Linked DNA regions of Homo sapiens: region 1 is linked to region 2. The links are contacts of gene promoters, found by promoter capture Hi-C in human tissues and cell types (Jung and others, 2019). All regions are on one chromosome and are shown on one strand. Each heading gives the region's core, a stretch centred on a gene start or on the middle of the fragment in contact. The rest is flanking DNA. Distances are from core to core; before and after follow the strand shown.

Region 1 (3,725 bases), core at 1-2,500, 430 kb after region 2:
GTGGCCAACAGAGGTGAGCACCAGTGGGGCCGGTGAGAGGAGCCTCATGGCCGCCCCAGCCTTGGCATTCTTCTCCCACTCACTGCCCCAGGCCCTGGCTTCCCACTCCCCTTTCTGCTTCTCCTAGGACCTAGGAATCTAACTTCTTGTTTCTTTGCCCTCTAGGTGAGATTGCCATCCGTGTGTTCCGGGCCTGCACGGAGCTGGGCATCCGCACCGTAGCCATCTACTCTGAGCAGGACACGGGCCAGATGCACCGGCAGAAAGCAGATGAAGCCTATCTCATCGGCCGCGGCCTGGCCCCCGTGCAGGCCTACCTGCACATCCCAGACATCATCAAGGTGGCCAAGGTGAGCCCAGTGGCCTGGCTGGGCCTGGACAGCAGGGACCAGGGAGTCTTAGTTGCCGCGGGGGTCTCTTGAGGCTGGCGTGCTCAGCGCCTCTGTGCGTGGGTGGGTAAACGGATGCAGCTCAGCAGGTTAGGCAGGGGAAGAGGCTGGCCGAGGCCTTGGAAGGGACTGCAAGGTACCGTCCTCTCCCTGACCCCCACCTGCAGGAGAACAACGTAGATGCAGTGCACCCTGGCTACGGGTTCCTCTCTGAGCGAGCGGACTTCGCCCAGGCCTGCCAGGATGCAGGGGTCCGGTTTATTGGGCCAAGCCCAGAAGTGGTCCGCAAGATGGGAGACAAGGTGGAGGCCCGGGCCATCGCCATTGCTGCGGGTGAATATAACGGGCAAGCAAGGGGTGGCCCCGCAGCTCCTGGAGAGGGTCCAGCAGGGAGGGGTGGCAGGGATTCCCGCCTGTTACAGAGACTCCCCCACACCTTTCTCCCAACAGGTGTTCCCGTTGTCCCTGGCACAGATGCCCCCATCACGTCCCTGCATGAGGCCCACGAGTTCTCCAACACCTACGGCTTCCCCATCATCTTCAAGGCGGCCTATGGGGGTGGAGGGCGTGGCATGAGGGTGGTGCACAGCTACGAGGTGAGTGAAGATGCCCAGGGCTGGGAGCAGGGCAGGGCAGCCTGCCGTGGGGGCAGGGGCGGACCACTCAAGGGATCTGGAAAGTGGGTGGGGTTCATGGCAGGGGAGAGGTAGCGCTGTGGGGTCTGAGGTCTGGCTGGCCCCTGCCCGCCCTCGCAGGAGCTGGAGGAGAATTACACCCGGGCCTACTCAGAGGCTCTGGCCGCCTTTGGGAATGGGGCGCTGTTTGTGGAGAAGTTCATCGAGAAGCCACGGCACATCGAGGTGCAGATCTTGGGTGAGTGGTCCTGACGCCCCGCCTGGGGCAGCTGGAGGCGGGAGCTGAGAGGCCCAGTCCTGGTGCCGTCACAGTGGCTGGCCTTGGGGACAGCCCTGGGGCCTGTCGGGCGCTTTTCCAGAGGACTCTGGAAAGTGGGCTCTAGGGGCCGAGCTGGCAGTTGGTCCTCACAGCCTTGGTGATGCTGGTGTCTCTCCTGGCAGCCTCTGTACCGCTGGCAGCCGGCACTGACTGGCGACAGTGGTTATGTGGGGGTGATGGGGCATTTAGGAGGCGTGTAGATTCCAGTAAAAGCTAAGCCCAGTTTACCTCCCTCCCCAGGGGACCAGTATGGGAACATCCTGCACCTGTACGAGCGAGACTGCTCCATCCAGCGGCGGCACCAGAAGGTGGTCGAGATTGCCCCCGCCGCCCACCTGGACCCGCAGCTTCGGACTCGGCTCACCAGCGACTCTGTGAAACTCGCTAAACAGGTGAAGGGTGGGCTTCCCGTGTTGGGACAGGAGCCTGTGCTCACAGGCCGGCAGGCCTCACAGTGGGGCGCTGGTTGGGGAAGGGGACCCTGAGTCCCCTTCTGGGGACTGGGGATGGGGAGAAGAGGGTGAAGGACTCTCCTGGGGGCCAGAAGTGGGTTTGTGGCATCCTTCCCATGTGCAGTTGAGGCACCTGGCCCAGAGGCCAAGCTTAGAGTCCAGGATGGCTGAGAAGAGGGAGGGAAGGAGCCCCAGCCGCCTCCTCAGCCCTGCTGCTACACAGACCTGGCTTCTCTGTGGCATCAGCTCATCCCTGTCATCAGGAGAATGAGATTCCGTGGATTCTGTCAAGATTGAGGACCATTATGAAGGCAGTCCTCCCTCATGTGCTTCTGTCTCCTACATCATGTTTATTATGATCTGTTTCCTTGCTCTGCACCCTCTGCCCATCTCTGCTTTTCTGGGACCTCTGGTCGGGGGGTCCTGGGCTGTGGAGGAGGCTGAGGTGGCAAGCTATCTCCCCACAGTGACCTGCCCCAGGACTGGCCTGGAGAGCACCTGCTGTGGCCAGGTGTGCAGCGGGGTCCTGCCCCCTCTTCTTCCCTGGCCTATAGGCAGCAGAGGATGCGTCACCTCCCCATGCCGAAGGCCGGGGTGTGCACTCTGCAGCAAGGCCTCAGCCACAGCTAATGCGAGGCATCGACCAGGGTCGCGTTTAAGTCAGGTCTTATTTACTGGCTTATACTATTTCACATTCCAGAACAGGTTTAAGGGAGGTGATTCAGTCTGGTTTATCGTTTTGGTGAGACCAAAAGTGAAACTGGAATTAGGGCTGAAATTTGAGTTAGAGTCATTATCTGTTGGTACCTCTCAAATGAATTTCTTTGGGTGGTGGTGGCCAGAGGTGACTGCGCAGTAGACTAGAAGGGGACTTTCTGAAAACACCTCCAAGCAGAAGCAGCGGCTGGGAGAGGCCTGGGTCTCCGTGTCTGGGTGGATGACACAGCCTTGGCGGGCAAGCCCAGGAGGCAGCAGGGCAAGGTGCCGAGCCTGGGATGGGTGGGGGCTTCTGCCCATGTCTCGTCCCAGATAAGCTGGGTGCAGCCATCTGTGGCTCCGGGAACCCTGGAGCCTAGTGGACTACTTGGGGGACGTGTCCAGGCAGGAGCATGACCTGGGCCCTGGGGTCTGTCTGCCATCTGTGGGGGCAGGGTTTGCCACAGGCCATTCTTTTACGGAACCAACCCAATGGGTGGGACGGAATCCCTGTCCTGAGTCCAGTGAGTTTGCCCAGGCCCTGCCTGTGCCCTCCCCTGCTCACGTGGCCGCCCCCACAGGTGGGCTACGAGAACGCAGGCACCGTGGAGTTCCTGGTGGACAGGCACGGCAAGCACTACTTCATCGAGGTCAACTCCCGCCTGCAGGTGGAGCACACGGTCACAGAGGAGATCACCGAGTGAGTGTGGGCGGGCAGGCGGGGCGGGAGGCGCGGCTTCTAGGATTTGCATAAAGTACAGGCGAAGTGGCTCCTGGGGCCAGCCAGGGGGCTTGCTCACTCCCCACATTGGTGGAGAGCAATGGGGATCCAGGTACTTAGTGTTTTAAAAGTCATTATTCTAAAAGCATTACGTGGTTATTATAAAAATCAGCACAAAGGAGCAAATAAAAATGACTGACAGCCCTCCTCTCTGTCAGGACGCTGCCGATTGCTCAGGCCCAGGTGCTCCCATCTGTCAGAGGAGTAAAGCAAGGCTCAGAGACATTTGGAGAGTTGCTCGGGGTCACACAGCTGGCGCTGGAACCCAGGCATCTCCGGCTGTCTTTGGTTTGCTCCTTTCCCGGTTTACCTGTTTTACTAGAGACATAGTTTGATGCAATAGAGATGTTTTATATAGAATTTTTATTCTACTTTTCAAATTATTTAATATTTGTTGAAGGCATTTCCCCAGGCCATAATTCTGTCTGAATACTTTTAGTGGCTGCGTACTAT
Region 2 (3,713 bases), core at 28-2,527:
CAGGACAGCCCCACGGAGCACCGCAAAGCTCTGCCTGGCAGGGCAGTGGGCAACTGTCATGGCTCCTCATTCCCCTTAGGGTAGGGGCTCTCAAAGTCTAGCATGCATCACATTCACCTGCAGCCCTTGTCTACACGGATTCATGGGCCCCCACGCGGTCGATAGGTCTAGAGTGGAGGCCTGAGCATCTGCATTTCTAACCCCTCGGCCCCTTGGCAATATTGCTGAGAACCAGTCTTGGGGGCTTCCAAGCTCTCAGCCCCTCTACTCTAGCTCATCTGTGGGGAGAGGGGGCTGCTCCTTTTCCCCTCCCACCTGTTTAACTCAAGTGCTGCTGGGAACATGGTCGGGGACCCAGGAGTCCTCAGGCCCATCATGCCCTCCTGCCGTTCGGCCCGTGGCCACCACCTGAGCCAAAGCCCAGGGCAGTGGATGAGGAAGCCCCAGCTGACCAGGGGGAGGGTGAAGGCAAAGGCCGCCCTACCGCGAGCCCACCAGCCGGCCCCACCGGGAACGCTGCCCCACAAATTTGGCAGTGGGCTTCGCTGCGCGTCCTCCGGGGAGCTTTCTGTCCCTGCAGCTGGAGCCCAGGACGGCCGTGGCCAGGCCCGGGGCAGACGGAAGTGTCTGCGTGGGGGAGGTGGCGCTCACCTTCGCTGGAGTCGACTCCTTCGCTGGACCGCCTGGTCCTGCGGAGAGAGCAGCCCCAGGGCAGGGTGAGGGCGGGGAGGGCTGTCCCCTCCCCTCTCTCAGGAATTCTAGAGTTGGGGGAGGCCAGAAAAGGCGCCAGATGCCAATCGTCTTCCCACCCCAGTCCACGCCCCACCGGGAGGCCCCGTGGAGCCCCGGCCCAAGGCCAGGTCGGCTGGGTGGGCGCCGAGTGTGGCGGGGGGCGCGCTCAGATCGGGGCCTCCGCAGCCCGGGCGGCGCGCAGGGCTCTGGATTGTGCCCCGGCGCCAGTACCAGAGACCCTCGAGGCCCCCAGCGCCCTCCAGCCCGAGCCCCGGGGCCCCCTCCTCATGTCCCCGTTCGAGAGGAGCCCGCTGGCGGGCAGGACGCGCTCCCAAGCCGGGGCAGCAACTGCGTGGGCGGCACCACGGCCGGACCACACTCACCCAGGGCCCCACGGGCGTGGAGGCGCCGCTGCCCGGGGGCGAACGGCTCACTGTGACCAGGGCCATGGAGCCAGGCCGCGAGCACCTGGGCTGGCACCGGGCACGGCCCCTTCCCTCAACCCCGCGGACAGTCCTGGACCCGCAGGACCAGGAAGGACGGACGGCGCCACCCGGGCCTGGCACCTCCTCGGGGGCGGCCCTTAAAGGGCCAGACACTCGCCCAGCCGGGCCCGCGGAGCTTCTCAGGGCGGCCGGGCCCCGCCCCTCCGGTCTCCGCTGTTCGGCCCGCCCAGCCCCTGGGCACAGGTCAGGGGCGAGGCCGGGGGCGGGCGCAGGTGCGGAGCCCGGAGACCCGGAGGGCAAGAGCTGAAGGCCGGGAGTTTGGTCCCCCTCCCAGGAAGCGCCCGGCCCGGGCCGGCCCAGCGGGAGCACCTGAGCTGTTCTGGGCCTCCAGCGTCCTGTGCCCTGCAGAGGCGGGTCCTAGGGAGGCAGAGCTGAGGTGGGGAGGTGGGGGACAGGTCTAGAGAGGATCAGGCACGGCGCGCCCTCGGCCAAGGGCCCCCACCCCAAACATTTCTCCCTGCTGGTCGGCCTTCTCGTTCCCACTCCGCAGGAACCACTGGAAGACAGGCTTCCGGGGAAAACGGCCTGGGGTTTACAAATAACCCAGGAAGCCCATGAGGGGCTCTCAGGTCCACCTCGGAGGCGAGCAGGGCAGGGCTTCCAGCTACGCAGGCGGAAGTGACTTGCGCAAACCCACCCGCAGAGAACAAGCCGCAGTCAGGGCCAGGGCCTGGGCTTGGCTGCAGGGGTCGGCGTCGGGGCTCTTCCCAGCTGGAGGTGAATGGTGCCTGGGGACCCAGGCTTTTCCTCCCCAGCAGGCACGTGGGCCGGTTTCCAGAAGACTAGGCTGGGTGGCAGGACGAACCGGGTCCCCAGCAGGTGGGACAGGGCACAGGGGATCTGACTTTCACAGGACGCCTGCTTGGTAAGGACACGTGACTCTCGCCAGCTCCTTTCAGCCCTGAGGGGCGGAGGGTGGGGGGTGGTCTCCTCATTTTACAACTGAAGAAACTGAGGCTCAGATAGGCTAAGGGGACCATGACCAGGATTCAAGCCCAGGTCTGAGGCCGCCATCCACAGTGCCTCTCCACAGCGCCCCACCTTCAGGGTCCCCACCGCTCCAGCCCAGTGAGCAGAGCAGCCCTGCTGCGACAGTCTCTTTATTTCCATCTCAGTCTCCCCTGCCTGCTCATTCCTGGGGCTCCAGGCCCCAAGCTCAGCAGCAGAGAGTTTATAAATAAATAAATTACAAAAGCGGGCAGGGAGTGGCCTGGCCAGCCCTCCCGGGGCTATGGCTCAGTGCTCAGTGAGTGACAGCTGCAGGATCCGCTGTAAGTCCTCCTCCTCCTGCTGCCCGCGCCGCTCCCGCTCCTCCTGCTCCCGTGAAGACAACTCCAGGGCCAGGCGCAGCTGCTCTTCAAAGCTGGGTGGACCGGGGGCTGGGGGTGTCCTGGGAGGGGATCCTGGGCCCCTGGGCTCTGTGGACAGCTGCAGGCTTTCCTGGAGGGCCCTTCCAGGCAGGGCAGGGGAGGGAAGAACAGGCCAGTGAGCGCCAAGGCTGGGGCAGAAGCCGAGGGGCTGGGGACCGGCTTTGGAGGACAAAGGCAAAGACAGGGTGGCAAGCAGAGGAGACAAGGCAGGGCCCTGCTTCCCCACCCCTCACACCACCTTTGGTGGCAGATAGCGCTGCTGACAGAGGGTGGCCTTGCAGAGGGCCTGGGGTCCTAGCACCTTCCTGCTATCCCCCTCCCCGCCAAGCCAGGGCTGGGGGGACAGGGACCCAGCCAGCCCCATGAGGGGCTCACCGCTCCAGCTGAAGCTGTTCCTCATAAACCGTGGCCTGGGGAGGAGGGCGGGCACCGGGCCGGGTGTTGGTCAGGGCTTCCCAGACGGTCACCTGCAGCCACCAGAGCCCACAGCTGTCACTTCTGCCGTGTGGCTGCAGAGGCCAGAGCCCACCCCCTGGGCAAGTCCCACCTGCTCCGCCTCAGTGCCCGCTTCAAGCAGGCTCTGCTGGATGGCGAACTGCAGGAGGTCATCGTCCTCGTCCCGGAGGGGCTCGTTGCGCTCCATGCCCAGCACGCTGTACCCGTTGGGCACTTCAAACACGGTGGGGTCCACCTCGCACGGGAAAGGGTTCCCTAGGCAGGTGGCAGAGGGGCCACGCTCAACCCGCGGGGCTTGGTGACCAGAAAGCTGTGCAGGCTCCCTCTTCCTCCCGTTGGGGTACCTGATGCGGCAACAGCAGAGCTGGGGGCCGGCACCCACACGGAGCTCAGGGGCTCATCACAGCCACACAGGTTGCTGAAGGTGATGCGGGCATTGAGCACGTGGAAAAGGGGAATCTCTGTGAGAAGACAGCCACGCCTGAGCCCTGGCGGAGAGCCACCTGTGCCTCCGGCCCCTGCAGCTCTCCAGGGACTGCGCTGAGGGAGGGTGCCATGCCTGAGGTCCTCCCGCTGCCTGTGCCCAGCCTCTCACCAATTTTGACGGGGAAGCCAGGTGGAAGGCGCAGAGTGATGAAGTCGCGCAGCT

What was found. The method cuts DNA at HindIII sites, captures the fragments that hold promoters and counts their contacts. A contact is called where the count stands out against the background at its distance.
Region 1: a contact is called between a fragment that was not itself captured here and the fragment with the promoter of SSH3 in region 2, in 1 of the 25 tissues and cell types used here (dorsolateral prefrontal cortex).

The regions. Positions count from the first base shown.
Region 1 is chr11:66,868,312-66,872,036 of GRCh38, reverse strand. It overlaps PC (pyruvate carboxylase), which reads left to right. Exons shown (of 23, transcript NM_001040716.2): 4 at 1-13; 5 at 166-350; 6 at 557-722; 7 at 840-985; 8 at 1,145-1,262; 9 at 1,584-1,735; 10 at 3,073-3,191. Among named protein-coding and RNA genes, the nearest start is that of LRFN4, 13 kb to the right of the region's middle. RefSeq lists an enhancer at 3,156-3,265. The HindIII fragment of the contact is 6,756 bases long and covers 1-3,725 here.
Region 2 is chr11:67,301,094-67,304,806 of GRCh38, reverse strand. It overlaps SSH3 (slingshot protein phosphatase 3), which reads right to left and starts at 1,277. Exons shown (of 14, transcript NM_017857.4): 1 at 1,116-1,277; 2 at 652-689; 3 at 1-34. The coding sequence starts at 1,181. ANKRD13D (ankyrin repeat domain 13D) reads right to left here. Exons shown (of 15, transcript NM_207354.3): 11 at 3,660-3,713; 12 at 3,409-3,525; 13 at 3,156-3,319; 14 at 2,984-3,075; 15 at 2,323-2,688. The coding sequence ends at 2,475. RefSeq lists enhancers at 1,090-1,609, 1,610-2,127. The HindIII fragment of the contact is 10,588 bases long and covers 1-3,573 here.